3 separate regions of the Homo sapiens genome follow, and all the other regions are linked to region 1. The links are contacts of gene promoters, found by promoter capture Hi-C in blood cells and fetal thymus (Javierre and others, 2016). All regions are on one chromosome and are shown on one strand. The core of a region is centred on a gene start or on the middle of the fragment in contact, and the rest is flanking DNA. Distances in the headings are between cores, read along the strand shown. Region 1 holds the start of RAMP3 (receptor activity modifying protein 3). Region 2 has its middle 15 kb from the start of MIR4657. Region 3 overlaps ADCY1 (adenylate cyclase 1).

Region 1 (2,938 bases), core at 272-2,771:
GAAGGCCTGGCTGTGGGCACCATCAGTCTCACTAGAGGCTCTGTGGCCACCCCTACACCTGCTGCCCACCCCTCAGGCAGAAGGCAGGACAAATGATCAATTTTAATTAGTTTTGACTCCTTTGAATTAATTCTGGCTGTAATCAGAATTTCTTCAGTAAAAAAGCACAGAAAGTTCTTCTCCCGAATAAGGGTCTTGTTAAATAAAGTGGGTCTTTCTAAGCCAGGAGAAGTTCAGCTCAGCTCCTGGGAAGGTAGCAGTACCTACGGCTCAGAGGAGTGGAGGGCCCATCCATGTAGGAGCCTGGGCCTGTGCCCCAACCTCAGACCAGCATGTGCCCCCAGGGGTGGTGGGTGGGCCCTGGAGGGCAGAGAGGTGCCTCTAGCTGGCTCTCGGAAGTCCTGACCAGTGACAATTCTTAAGACACCATTAAGTGTCCACTGGAGCCAGGGCCTGTGCTAGGGGCTGAGGGTGACAGAGGTGACCCATCTGGCCAAGTGACCTGTGGCTGGAGAAACTGAGGCCCTCCTTCGCCTCAGGGACCCTGACACTCTTCAAGGCCAGGTCTTTGGTGGTGCCAGATACTCTCCTGTCCCTTGGTTTGCTTGTGGCTTGGTTCTTGGTGTGTGATACGTCTCTGTGTGTGTAGTTGCCACACCCTCCAGTCTCTCTCATACACACTGTTTCCCAAGCATACACTCACAAACACACCTTGTCTCAGACTCAAACACACACATGCCACACACACACCATACATCACACACTCCATGCACACACATGCATCTACACACACCCCACATGCACATCACACACACGTACTCCATGAACAACACACACACGCACACACACAGACGCACACACACACACCCCCCAACCTCTTTTATGCACTTTCCTGACCTTTGGAGACCTGGCTCCTAGATGTATCTCTGCTCAAAGTTCCCCTCCCTGCCTGGGGGCAGCTCTGGACTCTGGTCTACTTTCGGCCAGGGCACACCTAGCCCACTCCCAGGTCCACCTTCCTCCAGTCTACCCCCAGACTCCTCTAGGCCATCATCAGCCAGCGCTTCATCCTCACCTCAGCTCCCTCCCCGGTCTACCCCCACCCTCTGCCCCTGAGCCTGGACGGAAGTTCCCCAAGTCTCTCCAGCCTGCATCCCAGCCCACCGTCAGCCGGCCCCCACGCTCACCCCAGCTCACCTCCCAGTCTGCCCCTACAATCTGCTCCCAAAAAGCTCCTTTGCAGCTCAGCACCCCAGCCCCGCCCTCAGAGCCCATCAGCCGGCACCCCACCTTACCCCAGCTTGTCCCCAGCTCGAAACCCTGCCCTCGCCCCCCTCTCACCCCGCTGAGACTCCAGCCGCCCCCATCCCTCCCACCCGGCGCGCCTGCAGGGACTGCACCCCACATCTGGAGGCAACGGGGCACGGCCGCAGGCGTGGTCTGGGGGTGCGGCCTGAGGGCGGACCCCCTGAGGCCCCGCCCCACCCCAACCCCAACCGGGCGTCCCCCAGCCGCGCCCCCAGCGGGACCGAGCGTGACCCAGCTGCGGCCGGCCAGCCATGGAGACTGGAGCGCTGCGGCGCCCGCAACTTCTCCCGTTGCTGCTGCTGCTCTGCGGTAAGGGGGCGACGGCCCGCACCGGGGGCGCCCCCACTCCTCGGGGTTCACCGGACCCGGGTGGACCCGCGCCTTCCCGCACCTGCGCCGCGGTCCTTCCCTTGCCCCGGAGCTCGGGAGGGGCGCACAGTGACCCTGGCGGGATTCCCAGGCTCTGCGGGAGGGTTCCACCCGGGAGAAGCTGAAGGCGAAGGACTCTGGCGGGCAAGGGAGGCACAGGGCCCCCTCCGGGGTCTTCTGACGGCAGGGTCCGGCAGCCCCCGGTCCTTCTAGTTGTGATGTCCCCCCACGCCCCGGTTCTGGGGTCGCCTCAGGGTGGGCGAGAAGAGGTGGACCAGGTCTGGCTCTTTACCCCTTATCCCCCAGGGTGGGCTGTCTGTAAGGTAGTGAGCTCTCTGTCCTGGCATTGAGTGCCTGCCCACCACTCACAGGGGCGTGGGCGGGTGGACTCCGGACTGGGTAGCTGGTCCTCCCAGGGCCCCTCAGTGTGTGGACGCCTGTGTGTGTCCTGGAACTGGCTGAGAGGGGAAGCGGGGCGACTCTCTGAGCCATCCTCTCCTAATGCCTTCTTCGGCAAGAAATCAGGACTCTAGGAAGAACCATTGCTCACAAAATGGAAATAGATTAAACTAAAAGCTTGTTTTGAAGTACCTTGCTAAAGAAATTATCCAAGAAAAAGTAAGAGAGAGAGAGAGAGAGAGAATGTGTGTAAAGGCTGTTGGGGAAGAGTGCTTGCTGAGGGCTGGGGTCCACTGAGTGGTGACTGAGCCTGGCCAGTTCTGGGGGGGACATTGGTGATGGAGGGCCCTGGCCTGGTGGTCCCCAGTTTCCCTGGCTGTAAGATGCAGAGTTGGGCCTGTTTTGATGATTTGGGATTTGGTACGGGAGGTGGGAAAAGGGTGGACCAAACTCAGTGGTCATTTTCCTTCCATTGAAGAGGTCTTGGTGTGCAGAACTTGTGTGGCTTCATTTGGTGTTCCAGGGCTGGAGCCTAGGATGTGGTGGATTTTGTGTTGAAGTGCAAAGGTGGATGGCAGCTTCTGAAATCAGGAGCATGCTGATTTGGGATTTCAGCAAACTTCCAGTGAGCGCCCCTTAGGTGGAGATCTTGGTCGCTATAGTGGAAGGAAGGTCCTCTCAATTCATTCTGGGAGAAGCTGAGGCTTTCCTGATCATCTCCAGTATCAAATTGAGAAGGACCACAGGCTTCCGCCTGCACAGAATCCCCCCTTAATAATCCTGTCTCTCGTGGACCCAGTTCCTGAGGGCCACTTCTTTGTCCTGTTGTGTTGGTCCTGACTGTCCCCCTCCAATGGGACAT
Region 2 (2,897 bases), core at 99-2,598, 290 kb before region 1:
GTCGCCCAGGCTGGACTGCAGTGGCGCGATCTTGGCTGACTGCAATCTCTGCCTCCCAGATTCAAGCGATTCTCCTACCTCAGCCTCCCAAGTAGCTGGGATTACAGGCGCATGCCACCATGCCTGGCTAATTTTTTTTTGTATTTTTAGTAGAGACGGGGTTTCGCTATGTTGGCCAGGCTGATCTCGAACTCCTGACCTCAGGTGATCTGCCCACCTCAGCCTTTCAAAGTGGTGGGATTACAGATGTGAGCCACTGCGCCCAGCTGCACTCTAGATTATAATCCTTATTTCTATTCCAGAGTAAACCCAACACCCAACATATTTAGAGTTAATTTTTTTCTAGTGTCTTTTTTTTTCAGGTTGACAGGGTAATTGATATAAACAAGAGTTAAGTTCCTACAGCATATTTCTGGTCACAAAAACATTACCAAACTTCTAAATAAAGACCCAAAAAGCTTCTAATATTAAACATTGAAATAAATTTGAGCTATACATACATTTAAGAAAGATTAATAAAAACAGGCTGGACACGGTGGCTCACGCCTGTAATCCTAGCACTTTGGGAGGCCAAGGTGGGCAGATCACCTGAGGTCAGGAGTTCAAAACCAGCCTGACCAACATGGTGAAACCCAGTCTGTACTAAACATACAAAAAAAATTAGCTGGGCATGGTGGCGCACACCTGTAGTCCCAGCTATGCAGGAAGCTGAGGCAAGAGAATTGCTTGAATCTGGGAGGTGGAGGTTGCAGTGAGCTGAGATTATGCCACTGCACTCCAGCCTGGATGACAGAGTGAGACTCCATCTCAAAAAAAAAAAAAAAAAAAAGATTAATAAAAACAAGTAGGATAATTATTTGCCTCATTTTTGGTGAATGAATGAGTGATGACTGTCACAGTGGGGTGGGTTAAATTAAGGAATAAATGTTTATAAAGCAAAATTTGTAAGGAATGGCCTCTGCTACCACACAGTTAAAAAACAATCACACATTTGGCAGGCTCACTGAGCAATTTCATTCCTCATTGTTCATTGCCTATTGTCATGCATTTGTATAATTATCATATTCTTTACCAATTTTTATTTTATAATAATTTGTATTCATTTATCCATACATTGATTTTCTAACCCATTTATTCCAGTTCAGGGTTGTGGGTGGCTGGAGCCTATCCTGGCAGTTGAGGGTACAAGGTGGGAGCCAATCCTGGACTGAATGCTATTCTACACACGGCACATGAACTCAGACTGGGACACTTTAGACATGCCAATGAACCTAACCTGCACATCGTTGGGATGTGGGAGGAGACCAGAGTACCCAGAGAAAACCCACACAGTCATGGAGAGAAGGTGCTCTAGAACACACCCCAGCAATGATGTCAGGCGTAGCCTCAGAGGGTGGATGGGAGCAGCTTGCAGGGAAATTGAGAGAGCTGGCTCCACTCCCAAGCCCCCCTTCTTTTGAGACAGGGTCTCATTCTGTTGACGAGGCTGGAGTGCAGTGGTATCATCATGGCTCACTGCAGGCTTGATCTCCCAGGGTTGGGTGATCCTCCCACCTCAGCCTTCCAAGTAGCTGGGACTACAGGCACATGGCACCATGCCTGGCTAATTTTTTATATTTTTTAATAGAGGTGAGGTCTCACCATGTTGCCCAGGCTAGTCTTGAACTCCTGAACTCAAACGATCCACCCACTTCAGCATCCCAGAGTGCTGGGATCAGGAGCCACCTGCCTGGCCCTGGCTCCCTTAAAGTGTGACCTTTGAAGGCAAAATGGTAGGTACAATATAAAACACTGCAACAAACCCTGATAATTCCCACGCTTGTTTCTATCCTAAGTCTTGCCCACAAAAGAGAAAACCTATAGCTGACAAAGGTTTGGGAGAGTTCAGCAGGTGTAATCAAAATAGAGTTTGCAGTCCCCACCAGAAAAGATGTGGTGTCAGATGAGGAGCAGATAAATGAGAGCACTGCTCTGATGAGTCACTTGCCTAAGTGATGTCACCAGCTGGGTTTTCACTGCCAGAAAATCAGCAGCTGCTGGACTAGAACATTCCACATCGCTGACAACAGCTCTTCTTCCTTCAGAAGTTTGTTTTCTGCCATTCTGCCAGAACACCTAGCATGCTTTCTCTTTTTATGTTATTTATACTAGAAGGTGAGGAACCTGCCTTTATGTTCTGAACTATGCATGATAGAGGACCCAATTAAAAAAAAAAAAACTCTTTCAGAATTCCAAGCCAAAGCTTCAAGGCCAGAAGCAGCTAGATGTAAATAAGGGCAGGGATTTTTTTATGCAGAGAAACAACTCACTTAAGGTCATACAACAAGCCAGTAAAGACAATACATTTTCTTATTCTTAAACTTAGCCATCATCTCATAAGGCCAATTGGATCCCAGTACTCCTTCATCCAGTGAATTATCAGCAGAGAATCACTTCATTTAGTGACTTGTTCATTTTATTTATTTATTTTTTTTGAGACGGAGTCTAGCTCTGTCACCTCGCCCAGGCTGGAGTGCAGCAGTGCGAATCTCGGCTCACTGCAGCCTCCACCTCCAAGGTTCAAGCAATTCTCCCGCTTCAGCCTCCCGAGTAGCTGGGATTACAGGTGCGTTCCGCCACACCTGGCTAATTTTTGTATTTTTAGTAGAGATGGGGTTTCACCATGTTGGCCAGGCTGGTCTCGAACTTCTGACCTCAAATGATCCACCTGCCTTAGCCTCCCAAAGTGCTGGGATTACAGGCATGAGCCACCGCGCCTGGCCAACTTGTTCATTTTAAATGTAAGTTGTTTAACTCAAAGGGAAATATGCACCTATTAGGTGATTTTTTTTTTTTTTTTGAGACAGAGTCTCGCTCTGTTGTCCAGGCTGGAGTGCAGTGGCACAATCTCGGTTCAC
Region 3 (3,157 bases), core at 53-2,552, 490 kb after region 1:
AATGACAGTAATATTATTTATTTCATCTTTCCATATATAGTAGGCTCAAAATAACATTGCCAATATTATTTTCAACAATAAGTCTGCTGAATGCAATTGGAGATTTCTTTGTGGTTATTTTTGTCCTTGCATTATATTCTACCAGACATACAGTCAAATATGCATTTTCTCATCGCTCGAAATAATTCTTCTCTCTGTGGTCATGCTGGTAACAGGTTTATTTCATTTTGGTTTTGATCTTTTAGGTATAACTGTTTTTAATTTTTCTTTTTAGGCACATAAAATAATTGCATGGTTCAGTTCCACAGTAAAAAACCGAAGTCGAGGTACATGGAGAGACCCCTCCCTTGCTCACTGTTCCTCCCGTGCGTGTAGTTAGATGTTTGTGCTGGGTTTCCCCTTGCCCCTCCATGGTTCCTTTTGGTTTCTTTTTGATGCTGGTAGTGCATGCACTGTGAAACTGTTCCTGGAGAGTGCTTCCCAACAGGGCACGCTGATTCCTCAGTCCTCCCCTGAGGCAGGGAGGCTTCCGGGGACCTGATTTGATCCTGTTGATGAACAGGTGTCTGCAGAGTTCTTGTGTTTCAGCTCTTCTGCGCTATCTCTGTAGCAGGAAGCTTCCTCTAGGGTTTTCTAAAATTTCTTATTTCGTTCTTCCACTGATAGCCAAACACTCCAGTCTTACAAAGTTAATTGGACTTGGCCAGTTTGGGTTTTGGATGCAGTCACTTTCGGGCAAAAACTGGATTGATTCAGGCTTTTCATCCTCTCCTTCTCCCAGGTATCTGTTTTCTTAGAATTGGGATGCAGTGTGCGAGTCCATGACCTCTCTGGACTCTACTGTTTTAGAGCTGGCCCTAGAGCGGCCTGGGCATGTCAGAGCTCTGGAATTGGCAGTGGATCTTCCTGAGCCACTGACTCTCTGCTTTCTTCTAGACGTTACCTCTGTGCCCTTCTGGGACGGGTCCTGGGGCTGGGCAGGGTCAGAGTGCACTGGCCTATGTGAGCCCTTTTTGTTCTAGACCCTTCTCTGTGGCTGCCTGCTCAGTCAAGGCCATGATGGGCCCAGACTGTCTGCAAGCTGGCCGCAGCTCTTTAGGCCATACCTGGAGCAAATCAGGAGACTTTCCTATCTGGATTCTCCTGCAGTGGCTCTGTTATACTGAGAAGCTTCTGTTGTCATGTCACCTGCCTGTAGTCCTGTCCCTTTCAAGCCTGGGAGGGAGGGGGCAGCTCTTGTCCCTTAGGGCTGAACATGCCTCTGAGCCCCTGCCAACCCTCCATCTCATCTTCTTCTTTCTTCTTTTGGAGGAGACACAACACTTCCTGTGGTGCTTTATTGCAGTGGACTCTAGGTGCTGACTTTCCATATTTATACAAAAGAGTCTAAAATCAGAAACACTAAAACCAATTAGAAATACCTTTTTTGATCTCTTAAGCTTGCTAACAAAAGCCAGGGCCTCTGAGATTAAAGACAAAATAAAGCAATATATTCAACATTTGTCCTAAGCTGTCTCCACTAGTGCCAGCGTGGTGGAGGTGGGTGGGAAAGGGATGCCATGAGGGCCCAGGAGGGTTCTCAGCTTTGCATCTCAGAACAGTTTCCAGAGACTCATGTGTGATGCTGAGTGAGCTGGATATGTGCACACATGTGTGTATGGTATGAGTTGCCCAGGTTCTAGGAGAGGATTGCTGTTCTAAAGACAAGTGTTCTGGACAATTTCTTTAGAATACACAAGCCCTCATCTGCTTGTAAGGCCTTGCCACATGACCATGTGCATGTGGATAGCCTGTGCTAGATGGCTTTGCCCTTGGTCCTCATGCAGAGATAGGTTCTCCCCACTCACAGCTCGCCCACACCATGCAGTGACGGTCACACTTGAGGCTCCGTGGGCATCTCTTTAGCCTTCATTCCCGTGTGCTATTTATGCCTCCTTTTACATAGGACTCCTGTAGGGATGGTAATTGAAGATTCCACCCCAGCCAGCCCCACAGCAATGTCCTTTTCTGCGGTGGCCATGCCAAGTCTTGGTGTCAAATAGGATAGTTGGGTTGACAGGGTGGGCTGTTTGGAGCAGCTGTACTGACAGGCCCCACCTTTGCCTTTTACCCTGGAGGCCCTGCTACCATCAGATCTGACTGGCCTGTTCACTCATGCACACTCATCCCTTCAGCAGCCTTGTCCTGCACACCTGTCCCACTCCAGGGATAGGCTTGTTCTGGACTCACAGAGATGACCAGGAGGCCCTGGTAACCACGGGACCCTGGAAGGATGCTGGGAACACAGCTCAGAGCTGAGGTGGGGGCAGGGACACTAGCAGTTGCCCACAATCCCTGAGTCCACTCACGCACATGAGATGCAGGGATGATCAGGGACCCACATCACCCTCAAAGTCCTTGACGTCCAGAGCACAGGTCCTTAGAGTTGGGGATTGGTGACCCTCCCAAAACCATGTGCAAGAAGAGTTCCAGCAGCCAGTGGGCATTGTGGCTCTTGTGGGCTCCCAGAGGGGTCTTGAGCCCTCATTTGGGCCTCTGAGAAGAAATCCTGATGTGTCAGGGCTATCATCACAGGTTGTGAGTGCTCACGGGGTTTCTAATCTCAGGGAGGGGGTGGGAGGTGGCAAGGGCTGGGTGGAGGAAGCCTGAGTATGAGGTGTGGCCGCTTCCCCTTCCTGGCAAGCCCTGTGCATTCAGGCCTGTGTCTGACCGTTGGGGACATTTGGGGGATGTTTGGAAGCAGGCCTGAATGCACAGAGCACACCAGGGCAGTGCCAATGGGGACAGGGTAGTGTCCCAGGAGAGAGCCCAGAGCTGACTGTGGGCCTGGAGGCTCTGGTGAGTATGGCTTGAGAAGGCTGTCCGGTCGCATCCCTGGTGAGTCCCTGAGGGGTCCTGCCTTCAGTTTTGCAGGACAGAGACTGGCGCTGGCAGCCCACGCTGGAGTCCAGTGAATGGTCATTCAAGCTGGGCCCTGAGGGGCTGGCACTGGAACCAGGCAGCAACCATGTGTCCAGGTCACTTTTGTGGCCTCTTGGCTGTACCTTCCCTGGGACAGGACACGGTCCTTTCTGTGAGCACTGACTGTGGTTCCAGGCCATGTCATTGCTGCAGTGACAGTAACCATGGTGCCAGCCACTGCACAGAGACCCTTGCC

What was found. Contacts are between HindIII fragments. The CHiCAGO score rates a contact against its expected background, and 5 or more counts as called.
Region 2: a fragment that was not itself captured here is called in contact with the fragment with the promoter of RAMP3 in region 1 in 1 of 17 cell types (non-activated CD4 T cells); the score reaches 5.0 in non-activated CD4 T cells.
Region 3: a contact is called between a fragment that was not itself captured here and the fragment with the promoter of RAMP3 in region 1, in 1 of 17 cell types (M2 macrophages). The highest score is 5.5, in M2 macrophages.

Annotation. Positions count from the first base shown.
Region 1 is chr7:45,156,270-45,159,207 of GRCh38, forward strand. RAMP3 (receptor activity modifying protein 3) reads left to right here and starts at 1,522. Exons shown (of 3, transcript NM_005856.3): 1 at 1,522-1,617. The coding sequence starts at 1,560. The HindIII fragment of the contact is 23,160 bases long and covers 1-2,251 here.
Region 2 is chr7:44,865,502-44,868,398 of GRCh38, forward strand. No RefSeq gene overlaps it. Among named protein-coding and RNA genes, the nearest start is that of MIR4657, 15 kb to the right of the region's middle. The HindIII fragment of the contact is 1,784 bases long and covers 457-2,240 here.
Region 3 is chr7:45,643,381-45,646,537 of GRCh38, forward strand. All of the region lies in intron 4 of ADCY1 (adenylate cyclase 1), which reads left to right. Among named protein-coding and RNA genes, the nearest start is that of ADCY1, 71 kb to the left of the region's middle. RefSeq lists an enhancer at 2,322-3,157. The HindIII fragment of the contact is 269 bases long and covers 1,169-1,437 here.